Linked DNA regions of Homo sapiens: all the other regions are linked to region 3. The links are contacts of gene promoters, found by promoter capture Hi-C in blood cells and fetal thymus (Javierre and others, 2016). All regions are on one chromosome and are shown on one strand. The core of a region is centred on a gene start or on the middle of the fragment in contact, and the rest is flanking DNA. Distances in the headings are between cores, read along the strand shown. Region 1 overlaps DCAF1 (DDB1 and CUL4 associated factor 1). Region 2 overlaps DCAF1 (DDB1 and CUL4 associated factor 1). Region 3 holds the start of NPRL2 (NPR2 like, GATOR1 complex subunit). Region 4 holds the start of RBM15B (RNA binding motif protein 15B).

The links. Contacts are between HindIII fragments. The CHiCAGO score rates a contact against its expected background, and 5 or more counts as called.
Region 1: a contact is called between a fragment that was not itself captured here and the fragment with the promoter of NPRL2 in region 3, in 1 of 17 cell types (endothelial precursors). The highest score is 5.1, in endothelial precursors.
Region 2: a fragment that was not itself captured here is called in contact with the fragment with the promoter of NPRL2 in region 3 in 1 of 17 cell types (endothelial precursors); the score reaches 5.8 in endothelial precursors.
Region 4: a contact is called between the fragment with the promoter of RBM15B here and the fragment with the promoter of NPRL2 in region 3, in 8 of 17 cell types (erythroblasts, naive CD8 T cells, megakaryocytes and 5 more). The highest score is 12.1, in erythroblasts.

The regions. Positions count from the first base shown.
Region 1 is chr3:51,427,991-51,430,690 of GRCh38, reverse strand. DCAF1 (DDB1 and CUL4 associated factor 1) reads left to right here. Exons shown (of 25, transcript NM_001387579.1): 11 at 479-658; 12 at 1,221-1,430. Among named protein-coding and RNA genes, the nearest start is that of RBM15B, 38 kb to the right of the region's middle. The HindIII fragment of the contact is 709 bases long and covers 969-1,677 here.
Region 2 is chr3:51,407,150-51,409,849 of GRCh38, reverse strand. All of the region lies in intron 23 of DCAF1 (DDB1 and CUL4 associated factor 1), which reads left to right. Among named protein-coding and RNA genes, the nearest start is that of RBM15B, 17 kb to the right of the region's middle. The HindIII fragment of the contact is 758 bases long and covers 883-1,640 here.
Region 3 is chr3:50,349,487-50,352,186 of GRCh38, reverse strand. It overlaps NPRL2 (NPR2 like, GATOR1 complex subunit), which reads left to right and starts at 1,412. Exons shown (of 11, transcript NM_006545.5): 1 at 1,412-1,612; 2 at 2,165-2,256; 3 at 2,354-2,522; 4 at 2,693-2,700. The coding sequence starts at 1,535. CYB561D2 (cytochrome b561 family member D2) reads right to left here and starts at 1,325. Exons shown (of 4, transcript NM_001291284.2): 1 at 1,203-1,325; 2 at 627-778; 3 at 141-178. The coding sequence starts at 753. LOC127898564 (CYB561D2-LOC101928965) reads right to left here and starts at 1,325. Exons shown (of 5, transcript NR_183066.1): 1 at 1,203-1,325; 2 at 627-778. RefSeq lists an enhancer at 1,151-1,370. The HindIII fragment of the contact is 2,178 bases long and covers 1-1,422 here.
Region 4 is chr3:51,389,981-51,392,680 of GRCh38, reverse strand. It overlaps RBM15B (RNA binding motif protein 15B), which reads right to left and starts at 1,396. Exons shown (of 1, transcript NM_013286.5): 1 at 1-1,396. The coding sequence starts at 1,281. RefSeq lists silencers at 783-842, 953-1,032, 1,073-1,552 and an enhancer at 1,873-1,922. The HindIII fragment of the contact is 3,377 bases long and covers 1-2,335 here.

The DNA of each region.
Region 1 (2,700 bases), core at 74-2,573, 1.1 Mb before region 3:
AATATCAAGGAAACCTGGGGATGCTTTACAGTTTCATTTTCTGACCCATAGTAGACATCAAAATGTGTGTGAATTAACCAGAGAATGAATACCAAACTCCTAGACTTAGGATCAGAAATCTGAGCCACTTTTATCACATTTGGAGAAGTTCCTTACCTCTTCCTCTTCTTTTAAGTGAGAATCCTAATACCTGTATAATGGAGCCCTCGTGAGCATTAAATGATGTAAATATTTGTTGGCACTCAGTAAGTATAGGTTGTATTTAAATATTTATCTAAATTTAGGTCGTTTTCAGGTTTGGAATGGATCGTGTTCTAAAATTGCCTTTGTATTATTACCTAAACTTTGTACTAAGAGTGACTTGATTGGAGATGGTCATTGTATTCTGCAGATATCTATACTGGCAAATTTTCCATCCTGTTCAAGGGCTCCTTTGCCCACAATTTAAAAGCATTGTTTTATTTGTATTTTTTTGCAGGTTTGCATGCATCCCCACAATGTTCTGTCTGATGTGGTGAACTATACCCTGTGGTTAATGGAGTGTTCTCATGCTTCAGGATGCTGCCATGCTACCATGTTTTTTTCAATTTGCTTCTCATTTCGGGCCGTCTTGGAGCTCTTTGACCGCTATGATGGTCTTCGTCGTCTGGTGAACTTGGTGAGGTTCTTTCAGTGCTTTTCTCCCTAGGATTGAGGGTCCTGGTTGTCTTGGCTGCCCTTTAACGGCACACCCTTGAAGAAAGGAAGCTTCTGATTAGAGGAGTTTTGCTGCCATTCTTTTTGTGAAGTTTTTTTTTTTTCCCTTTCTTCACAAATTTCTCTTTTTCTTTAGTAGTTAGAGGACACTGTGCCGTTGTAGACTTGCCTTGGATATAGTAATCTTATAACGGGGATTGGCAGTTGATGATCTTGATCTTTGTAAAAGCAATAGTTTTATTCCTGTACATTTTTTAATATGATTAAAAGCTTGTTCATTTTTTGGTATGAGTTTAATGTTTTGCTTTCATATAGCTACTGTTAGCATGCTATATACATAGATATACATAAATATGCGTTGATATTTGTCAGTCTTGTTAAGCATAAAAGTTTACTGATACATAAGCAGAATATGTATGGAAAGTAAAAAAAGTTTACTAAAATATTTTCCCTTTTTTAAATATTTTTACTTAACTCTTCTTGCCTTTTCCCCTCTTTTGCCCCAATATTTTGCATCTTAATAGATCAGTACTTTGGAGATTCTAAATTTGGAAGATCAGGGTGCACTTCTGAGTGATGATGAAATATTTGCTAGCCGCCAAACTGGGAAACATACCTGCATGGCCTTGCGCAAATACTTTGAGGCTCACCTGGCCATTAAATTGGAACAAGTGAAGCAGTCACTTCAGAGGACTGAGGGTGGCATTCTTGTCCACCCACAACCCCCGTACAAGGTGAGAGGACCTTGCCTTGAAAGGGAAAGTTCTGTTAGCCCTCTCTGTAGCATCTCAGTCCTGAAACTCACATTCAGATCAGTGGACTCTGTGCTATGTCCATTGTTGGAGTATACTTCCCTGTATGAAGGCAGAACAATTGAAAAATGGATGTAATAGGTGAATTTCAGGGAATTATTTTGCTTCCAGTTGTAAGTTGCTGGGATTCTAGAACTAAAAGATTAACTGAAGTGTGTATAAAAAAGCTTTCTTTTTTTCTTTTTGAGATACGTCTCCCTCTGTCACCCAGGCTGGAGTGCAGTGATGTGACCACACCTCATTGCAACATTAACCTCCCAGGTTCAGGTGATCCTCCCACCTCAACCTCCTGAGTAGTTGGGGGACTATAGGCACACACCACCACACCCAGCTAATTTTTAAATTTTTTTGTGGAGATGGGGGTCTCACTATGTTGTCCTGGCTGGTCTTGGAACTCCTGGACTCAAGCAGTCCTCCCACCTCGACCTCCCAAAGTGCTAGAATTACAGGTGTGAGCCACTGTACCTGGCAAAGAGCTTTTTTGTATGAAAAGTACTAGATGATTTGCCTTCTGTGCAGAATTTCTTTTCTGAAAATGTGTTTATAACTCCACTTCACTATCATTGTGGAATTTGATATGTTTTGGGATAATGACGAGTAGCTGCATGTTTTTTAAAAAATCACCAGCAGATTTCTTGAGACCAGCCTGGGCAACAATAGTGAGACCCTGTCTTTACAAAAATTTTAAAAATTGGCTGGGCCCTGTGGTGTGCATCTGTAGTTCTAGCTACTTGGGAGGCAGAGGTGGGAGGATCATTTGAACCCAGGAGTTCAAGACTGCAGTGAGCTACGATCATATCACTGCACTCCAGTCTGGGCAGAGACTGTCTCAAAAAAAAAAAAAAAAAAAAGGGCATGGTGGTACACCTGTGTCAGCTACTTGGGAGGCTGAGATGGGAGAGTCACTCGAGTCTGGGGGTTTGAGGCCGCACGTGATCGGGCTATGGCACTCCAGTCTGGGCAACAGAGTGAGAACCAGTCTCAAGAAAAAAAAAAGTCACAAATTGAAATCAGTCACATGATGCTTCTTTCTCTTAAGCTGTAACTTATATGCACAAAGGAAACTTTTGTTATCTTTTTGGACAAATCATATTGTGAGTCTAGTTATAAATAAGATAAAAGATTAAGCAATCTATGGTCATTACTTCACATATGGGCTTTTGACTCAAGAATTGTGGAATTTGAAAGGTAT
Region 2 (2,700 bases), core at 12-2,511, 1.1 Mb before region 3:
CCAAATTTCATGTGGTTGCCTTGAGTGGGTTTCTTAATACTGCCTGTTCTTTTATTCTCACTTCAGTTTGCTACCTTAGACACCTCACTCCCTTAATGCCTACTTTTTCACATTAGCTATCATGAAACAAGATGTAGTTTATTCTTGAGTCCATACAGAGGGTGCAGTTGTCAGGCCATTTGCGCGTACATTACAATGGTATGGGTGGCTGTCGACTGCTTTGTCCTCCGTGGGTTTATTCATCACTACCAAGTATCAGTTCTGAATCAGGCTTCTTGGATGTTACATGTTGAAGCATAAATCTGAGGCCAAAACTGGATTGTTTGTCAACATCATTATCCCAGCCCTCCCATATCCGTGCATTTAATAAGGCAGTGGGCGGCAGTCTTCTCTGGGAACCATCACCTGGGTCCATGTGATGCCTGGTGTCTGTCTTTGAGGGGGAGGTCAACTCAGAGGAAAGTTGAGATTGCCCTAGACACCTTGGGAGTTGGAAGGCTATTCTCTGGGTTCGCCTTATTCTTGCAGACATGGAGTGGTGAGAGGCAAAGGCACTGGAGGTTGGTGGCTGGCTGTGGAAGCGAGAGGCCACCATAAGGGAATAATTTAAGAGTTATACTCCTCTTATCCCACTCTCTCCAGGAAGGCTTGGGTCAGGGAAAAGACTGACTAATTCTTCTTCTTTTGTCCTGCTTAACTTCTGAGAAGTTAAGGGAGAAAGAGATTAGGAAGGGCATATGGTAGTGGTCAGGACTTTTGACTTGGATGCAGGAAGGAAAGCAAGAGGCTGCCTCAGCGTGACAGCCAAGAGTGAGAGGGGCAGGGTCAAGAGGGCTCTAAGGAGTGGCTCTGGAGCCCAGCCTGTAGAAGAGCCGGAAAGCTTTCTAGCTCAGAGAAGACTAGGTGGCAGGGTAGGTGTGCAACATGGCTAAGTTATTACTGTGGCTTCCAGATTTCTTAGGATCTAGGCATGTTTCACTCCATACTGATATTACAGCTTTTATTGATCATCTGGTGCATTTCATGTTTGAAGGACCTCTGTTAGAGAACTGCTTATCCCCTCAAGCCCTTGGCATTTTGATTTTTGATTTAGAGATGTTTGATTTAGAGATACGGGATAATACCGTATCTATTTGAGTAGGTCTCTTTTGTAACCTTAATTCTGTTGATCCATGCTCCTTCTAGAATCTTGTGGTGGAGTTTGGCTGTTTTTACTATCTCCATCAGATTTCTGCCTACTGCCTCTCATGCACAGTGTGCCAGCTTGAATTTTTTTTAAACTCACTTTCCTTTGTAGGAAAACCAGTCTCTAGTTTTACTTTGCTTTGTACGCTTCACCTGATTTTAAAACTAGAGACTTTTCATTTTCCTATGAATCATTTGCTATTCAAAGTTTTGTCCTAGTCTAGATATCTGTTCTCAGGTCTTCTCAGATGTTCCAGATATGACTTATGTGGCTCAGGGATACAGGCACCTGTGACCAACACCTTTGAATTTGCCTTTTCATTATAGCAAAATAAATTCAGAAGCCTGAATGGTCAGCCGTCATCTAATAAAATGGTCCAGCATAAAGAGCTTTATCGAGATATAATTGACATGCCATAAAATATTTGTCCTTTGTCCTTATGCTTAAATAAGCTTGGAGATTAAGAGGAAAGGATGAAAGGTACAGCTAGCTGTATCTAGATGAATGAAAACCTAAACAATGTATTGGACACCCATAAATATTTGGTTCCTGAGGCTGCTAGTCTGCCTGCCTTCAGGCATTTGATGAAAGCAGAGATAAGCTAGTCACCTATCACAGCTCATTATTATCCATTAGAAGTTTGGTATCTGGTTGTTTTTTTTTTTTTTTTTTTTTTTTTGAGATGGAGTCTCGCCCTGTCACCCAGGCTGGAGCGCAGTGTTGCGATCTTGGCTCACTGCAACCTCCACCTCCCAGGTTCAGGCAAATCTGCCTCAGCCTCCCTGAGTAGCTGGGATTGTAGGCGCCTGCCACCACAACCGGCCAATTCTGTATTTTTAGTAGAGATGGGGTTTCACCATGTTAGCCAGGCTGATCTCGAACTCCTGACCTCAGGTGATCCGCCCACCTCGGCCTCCCAAAGTGCTGGGATTATAGGCATGAGCCACCGCGCCCAACCTGGTGCCTGTGTTTTTAGAAATCAGTTCATTCATCTTTGATTTGACTTTTAGAAAAGTTACAAAACCCAAGATAAGTAATTGATCATTGCTCCTAGATTTTGACAAGCCAATACATTTTAGCTAATTATACTTAACCTTAAATTTATAATAAAAAACTCAACAAAGGAATAATGCTCTCTGTTTTCCACTCCATTTTGGAGTCTGGGACACACTGTGTGCTGTGCTTCCTGTGTGTTCTCCACTGCCTAGAAGCGGATGTTAAGAGTCTTTACTGATTACACACACCTGGTCAGAGCTGAATGTGTTGATTCCTGAAAGGCCTCATTTTCTTAAAGAATTGAAATGTAACTTGAGTTAGATTCTGCCATTGAGGAAAGAAAAACAAACATTTATGACCCTAAAGTGAACCTATAGCCTTTAAGGACAGAAAAAGTATTTTTTAAAAAGTAGGCATTTATACATTTAGCAAAATATGACATGTTACATAAAGGTCAGGATCAGATTTGAATGACGGTTTTGTTGTTGTTTTTTTTTTTTTTTTTTTTTGAGATGGAG
Region 3 (2,700 bases), core at 163-2,662:
TATATACCATGGGCAGGAGTAGTTGGAGCATGCAACTCTTCCAAACAGATATTAAATGTGGACAAAGATTCAGAGGCTGCCAGGGCCACCAACCATGCCCATGCTCCCACCCCTAAGAACTGCCCAGGCCCACTACTTACAGCCAAAGACATAAGCACCGGGTGCCAGGAGAACAGGCCTGGAATGAGAAGAGGAGGCCTCATGGGGCTGAGGCAAGAAGAAACCAGCCATACCAATCCTTAAGGGTTGAGGAATACCAGCAGCCCATCACCCAAGGAGGTGCTGCCAAACTGTGAGCCCCTTCTTGCTCTGCAACAAGCTGACCCCACACCTATCCTCTCTTCCTGGCCTCTTCCTGGATCAGAGGCCATGCTTTGCCACTCCTCTGGCAGTCCTCCCTCCTTCCCTTACACCTCCTGAGAGGCAGCCAAATGGAGCACCCAGAGAAGGAAAGACAAACCAGGAATTCTGTGTGCCCTGGCCATACCTACCTGCTCCACCTCACTCATCGCTCCAGCACAGAATTCCCTCAACCAGCCAGGCCTGTTCCCGGAAGTCCCACTGCCCTTCCTCCCCAGGAACAGTGGCCCTTCCCTTCCCAGAAGTCAGCTATGAATTCTACTTACTGGAGCCAGGCCTGGCAAGCACAGCCACAAAGATGGTAAAGCCCAGGGCCACAAGGTGGGCGGCAGCGCCAGAAGCAGTACGCAGAGCTCGGTAGATGTGTGACTCGGTCTCCGCAGAAAGGGCCATCGTCAGCCGTGCTAGTGGTTGTAGCCTGAAAGCATAGTAGCGTGGGCCAGGATCTCAGGTGCCCACTGTTCACTCCTCACTGGAGAAAAGGCTGCAAGGCAGGAATGCCACCCTCTTCCAATAAGTTATGGTAGGAAAGAACAGTACCAAGACCAGCACCAGGAATGGTCACAACATGCCAGTCGACGGCCGGCGGCCTGTCAACGTGTACCCATGTCTGAACTGGTACCAATCGCTGGCCCGCCTTCCAGGTAGGAGGCGCAAAGCCATGTAAGACTACAAATCCCAGCGTGTACCACGCCGTCGCCGGCAGTAGAGCCAGCTGGGAGGGCGCGGAGCACTATGGAAATTGTAGTTCCCTGCTGCGGTCCCAGTTACAGCGTGAATCCCTTAGCGCACCGCCTCCCCAAGTGCTGCCAGCATGCTGCCCCTCCACGCTAGGGACTTGCCTGCCTCTGCCGCAGCGCAGATCTGATGCGGTGGTTTCCTCCAAAGAAAGCGGGATACTCCGGGCCCTGCCGCGCGCACCGCCGCTCCGTCACGGAGCCGCTTTACTTCCGGGTGCGACGTCTACCCACCCAGGACTTCCTGGGACGAGCCGTCCCCCGCCCCAGCCACGCCTCTGAGTCGCGCTGCGCAGGCGCCATTGGGCAGAGGGATTGGCAAGCTTGCGTGCCCCAGCGACACAGGCCTCGAGGCTGTCTCTGACAAGTGTTCACAGGAGGTGGGGACGCCTCTGCGCGAGGAACGAGGAGCTACGGGCCTGGGCCCGGTTATTGCCATGGGCAGCGGCTGCCGCATCGAATGCATATTCTTCAGCGAGTTCCACCCCACGCTGGGACCCAAGATCACCTATCAGGTGCCACCCGGGCTCGCGGGACTGGGCGGGAAGAGGGACGTTCTCGAGAGCTCAACTGGCTGCCTGAAGGCAGTAGTTTCCCGTGCTGCACGCAGGCATGCTGCTTCATTCGCAGACAACTGTGAGGCTAGAGGATAGTCAGACCCAGGCCCCCGGCTCCCAATGTGGCAGGGAAGACATACGTCACATTGGCAGTGTTTGTAGGATATCGGGCTGTAGGGATCCGGTTGGGGGGTTCCAGGTCCCACAGAAGGTGAGTTGGGTGACCCATGAGTATCCCTGAACTGAGTGAAGAGTAAATGATGCATAGGAAGTTTAGGTAAGGCAGGAGAAAGTGTTCCAGGTAGAGGGAACAGCATATGCAGAAGCCAGGAAGGAGGTGAGATCATAGCGTATGTTTGGAAACAGAAAGAAGTAATAGGCCTGAGTGGATGGGAGAGAGGGGAACGCTGGAGAAGAGGACTTGGGCTTGGGGGGCATGAGGAGGTCACCATTTGTACTACACCCAGTACAGATGTCCACTGAGGGGCCCATTGCCACTCCCCTCCCCAGGTCCCTGAAGACTTCATCTCCCGAGAGCTGTTTGACACAGTCCAAGTGTACATCATCACCAAGCCAGAGCTGCAGAACAAGCTTATCACTGTGTGAGACCCTAGCTCGGGGTGAGCGGTGGGTGGCAGGGGTTGTCCCAGGAGGAGGAAGGGACAGGCTTGGGGGCCTGACTGTGTTCCAATTATCCAGCACAGCTATGGAAAAGAAGCTGATCGGCTGTCCTGTGTGCATCGAACACAAGAAGTACAGCCGCAATGCTCTCCTCTTCAACCTGGGCTTCGTGTGTGATGCCCAGGCCAAGACCTGCGCCCTCGAGCCCATTGTTAAAAAGCTGGCTGGCTATCTGACCACACTAGAGGTCTGCAATGAGATGGGCTTGGGTTTACCGACAGGCAGAGTTGGGGAAGGTGTTCCCATGTCTCCAAAGTCCCCCAAACCTGGGACCCTGCAAACCAGCTCAGGACTCAGGGCAGCCAACCAGCCAGGGGTCCTGGGATGTGCCCACCATGCTTTCCATGCTCTGTCTAGCTAGAGAG
Region 4 (2,700 bases), core at 147-2,646, 1.0 Mb before region 3:
AGGTCCCAGGCCACCCACCCAGAGACGAGTGGTGGGGTTGGCCTTGCCATAGCCTATCTTAATGGGGTTGCGACCAATCACTCGGCCCGACATGGCCACCTTAGCCCTATGGGCCATGTCCAGGTTCTGGAACTTGAGGAAGGCATAGGCACCGCCCTGGCCACGGGCAGGCCTCTTGATGACCACCTCCTCGATGATGCCATATTTCTCGAAGGCCCTTCGCAGCTCCACCTCAGATACGCTGTGGTCCAGGTTACCAATGAAGAGGTTGCGCGTGGCCCGCTGGTCATCCTCGGGCATCAGGTCCTCCTCACACACAGCTGGGTAGCCATAGGGGCGCCCACGGTCGTCGTACAGCCCGTAGTAGTCCAGGGCCCGCTCCCGGGACAGTCCCACGGCGGCGGCAGCAGCGGCATCCAGGGCGAAGGCTGCGGCGGCGTGACGGGCACGGGGCTCCCGCAGGGGCGGGGCAGCGACGGGGGACAGCGAGCGCTGCTTGTACTGGTAGCCTCCGTGTAGCGGGAGGTAGCCGAGCGGGTCGGCGGGCGCGGGCGGCCCTGGGGGAGGCGTGGAAGCGGCGGCGCTGCTGCTGCTACTTCGCCGACTGCTCCCGCCGCCGCCACGCAGGTACACGGGCTCTACCTTGAGCGGGCGGTCGTAGAGCAGCAGCTGCCGGGCCAGGGCGTGCTGGCGGGCCTCGCGTGCGTCCTGTGGGTGCCGGAAATTCACGTAGGCCACACGGCCCAGCTCAGGCGTGTGCGACAGGCGGAGGCTGATCTCGCCGAAGCGCTTGAACTGGTGGAAGAGCCGGTCCTCGAGGTGCTCGGCGGGCAGCGCGGGGCTCAAGCTGCTGATGAGCAACGTCTTGTACTCAGGCGCGGCCGCGGATGAGCCGGGACACGCGGGCTCGGCCCCAGGCGGTGGCGGAGGCGGCGGCAGAGGAGACGCGCGGGGCGACATGCCGGAGGCGCCCGGGTCCCCCGAGGCCTTGCCGCCGCGTCCCCCGCCGCCAGCGCCGGAGCCCGAGGAGCGCCCGCTACTCGCGCGGTGATTCGCGTCCCCGGTGCCGCGGCCGTCGCGATGCCCGCCCCCGCCGCTTCCGCTGCCGCGGGGTTTGTCGCGGGCCCGCGCTGGAACCGGGTGCTTGGCGCCGCCAGAGGCCTTGTGCGCCGCCCGCCGCCCGCCCGCCTCCGCCTCCCGTTCGCGCTCCCGCGGACGCTTGGCGGACGATGACGAGCCGCGCCCGCTCGGGCTAGAGTCTCGCTCGCTCTGCCGCTTCATGGCGCTGGCGCGGCGGGCGGGCGGCCCGTAGGTTTCTCACAGCGGCGGCGGCGGAGGCGGCGGCCGAGGAGGCAGCGCCCCCGGCGCCGCCATCTTGGACAAAAGGACTCGGCGCGGCGGTGGCGGCGGGGCGGGGCGGGAGCGGCGCCGAGGGGCCGGGCATTGCGTTATCAAGGTGCGCCGTCCTGCCACGTGACTCTGCGGCGGGCGGAGCAAGACCCGCGCCGGGCCTGCCTCATCGCGCTGCGTCGCCCAGTGCCAGGTGACCCTGTGAGTGCTGGGTGAGTGGGACCGGCCGCGCGCTCTGGCGCCACCGCGCGGCCCGCATGGCCGATGCTTGAGGCTACGCGGAGTGTAGTGAACCCTGAGAGGCCGGCGAGACGACCTAACGCTTTGTGCTCCCAGCCGTGCTTTGCCGCTCTGGGTCCAGCTATCTCCTCTTGCAGGCACTGGAGCCCGCGCTGATTGGAGCAGGAGTGGCAGCTTCCATGGCCGTTGGGATCTGGGGCATTGACCCAGTCAGTGGTCTCTTTATGTAGTATCCCCTCAGTCCTAGGACTAGGCTTGAGCAAACCCCACATCACCCTCGTTGGCATCTCCTGCCTGGGATCCGGCGTTGACGGCGCCAAGGACTAATGCATGCCTATCCTTAGACCCTGCCCAGGACCCAAGGCCCACATTCTGCGCATTCTCCACGTGCAGGTTCACCTGCAGCAGTCCCCGAAAAGGCCGTGAGGACAATTGCTGTCACGCAGGTAATAACCGAAAGCAGAGACAAGCCTGCAGTTGCAGTTGATGGAGTTGGAATAGACTCTTTAACGCCACTCTTGGGTCCCACCCTCTTCTGTGGGCAGATAGCAGGCTGGAAAGGTAGGGCCGTAAGAGCCAAGGATGAAGAGGCCATATGCACAGATAGTGCCAGCAGTTATCACACCTTGCCACGCTGACCCCTCGCTGGCCAGTACCCTCCTGTTCATCACCTTCAGGACGACCTCTTCTCCCCAGGTGAGGTGAGGGAAAGGGTGCCCAGGTGCTCAAGCCCATTGAGGAAGCTTTCATTCTCCAAGGACAGTTGCTGGAGCCATGGTAGAACCTGACCCAATTTCTGGCACAGAATCCTTGCGATGGGGAAGAGCAGACCAAGTCATGCCCTCTTCGCACAAAGAGAAAGCAGCTCCTGGAGTAGCTCAGGCAGGTGCAGGGGGAAAGGTCTTGGAAGAAAGCAATGGGTTCCACAGCAGCAAGGCCTCCTACAGGCAAACTGAGCTTAGGAGACACAAGTGAAGTGATCTGAGGCAAGACCAATTACTTGGAAAGCACTGGTTCTTAGTCCGTCCTTTCAGGTGGTTTCTACAGGTGTCTTCATTGAGCCACAGCTCACACTAACAACTGGGTTTCCTAAGCACCAGTGCCACAGAG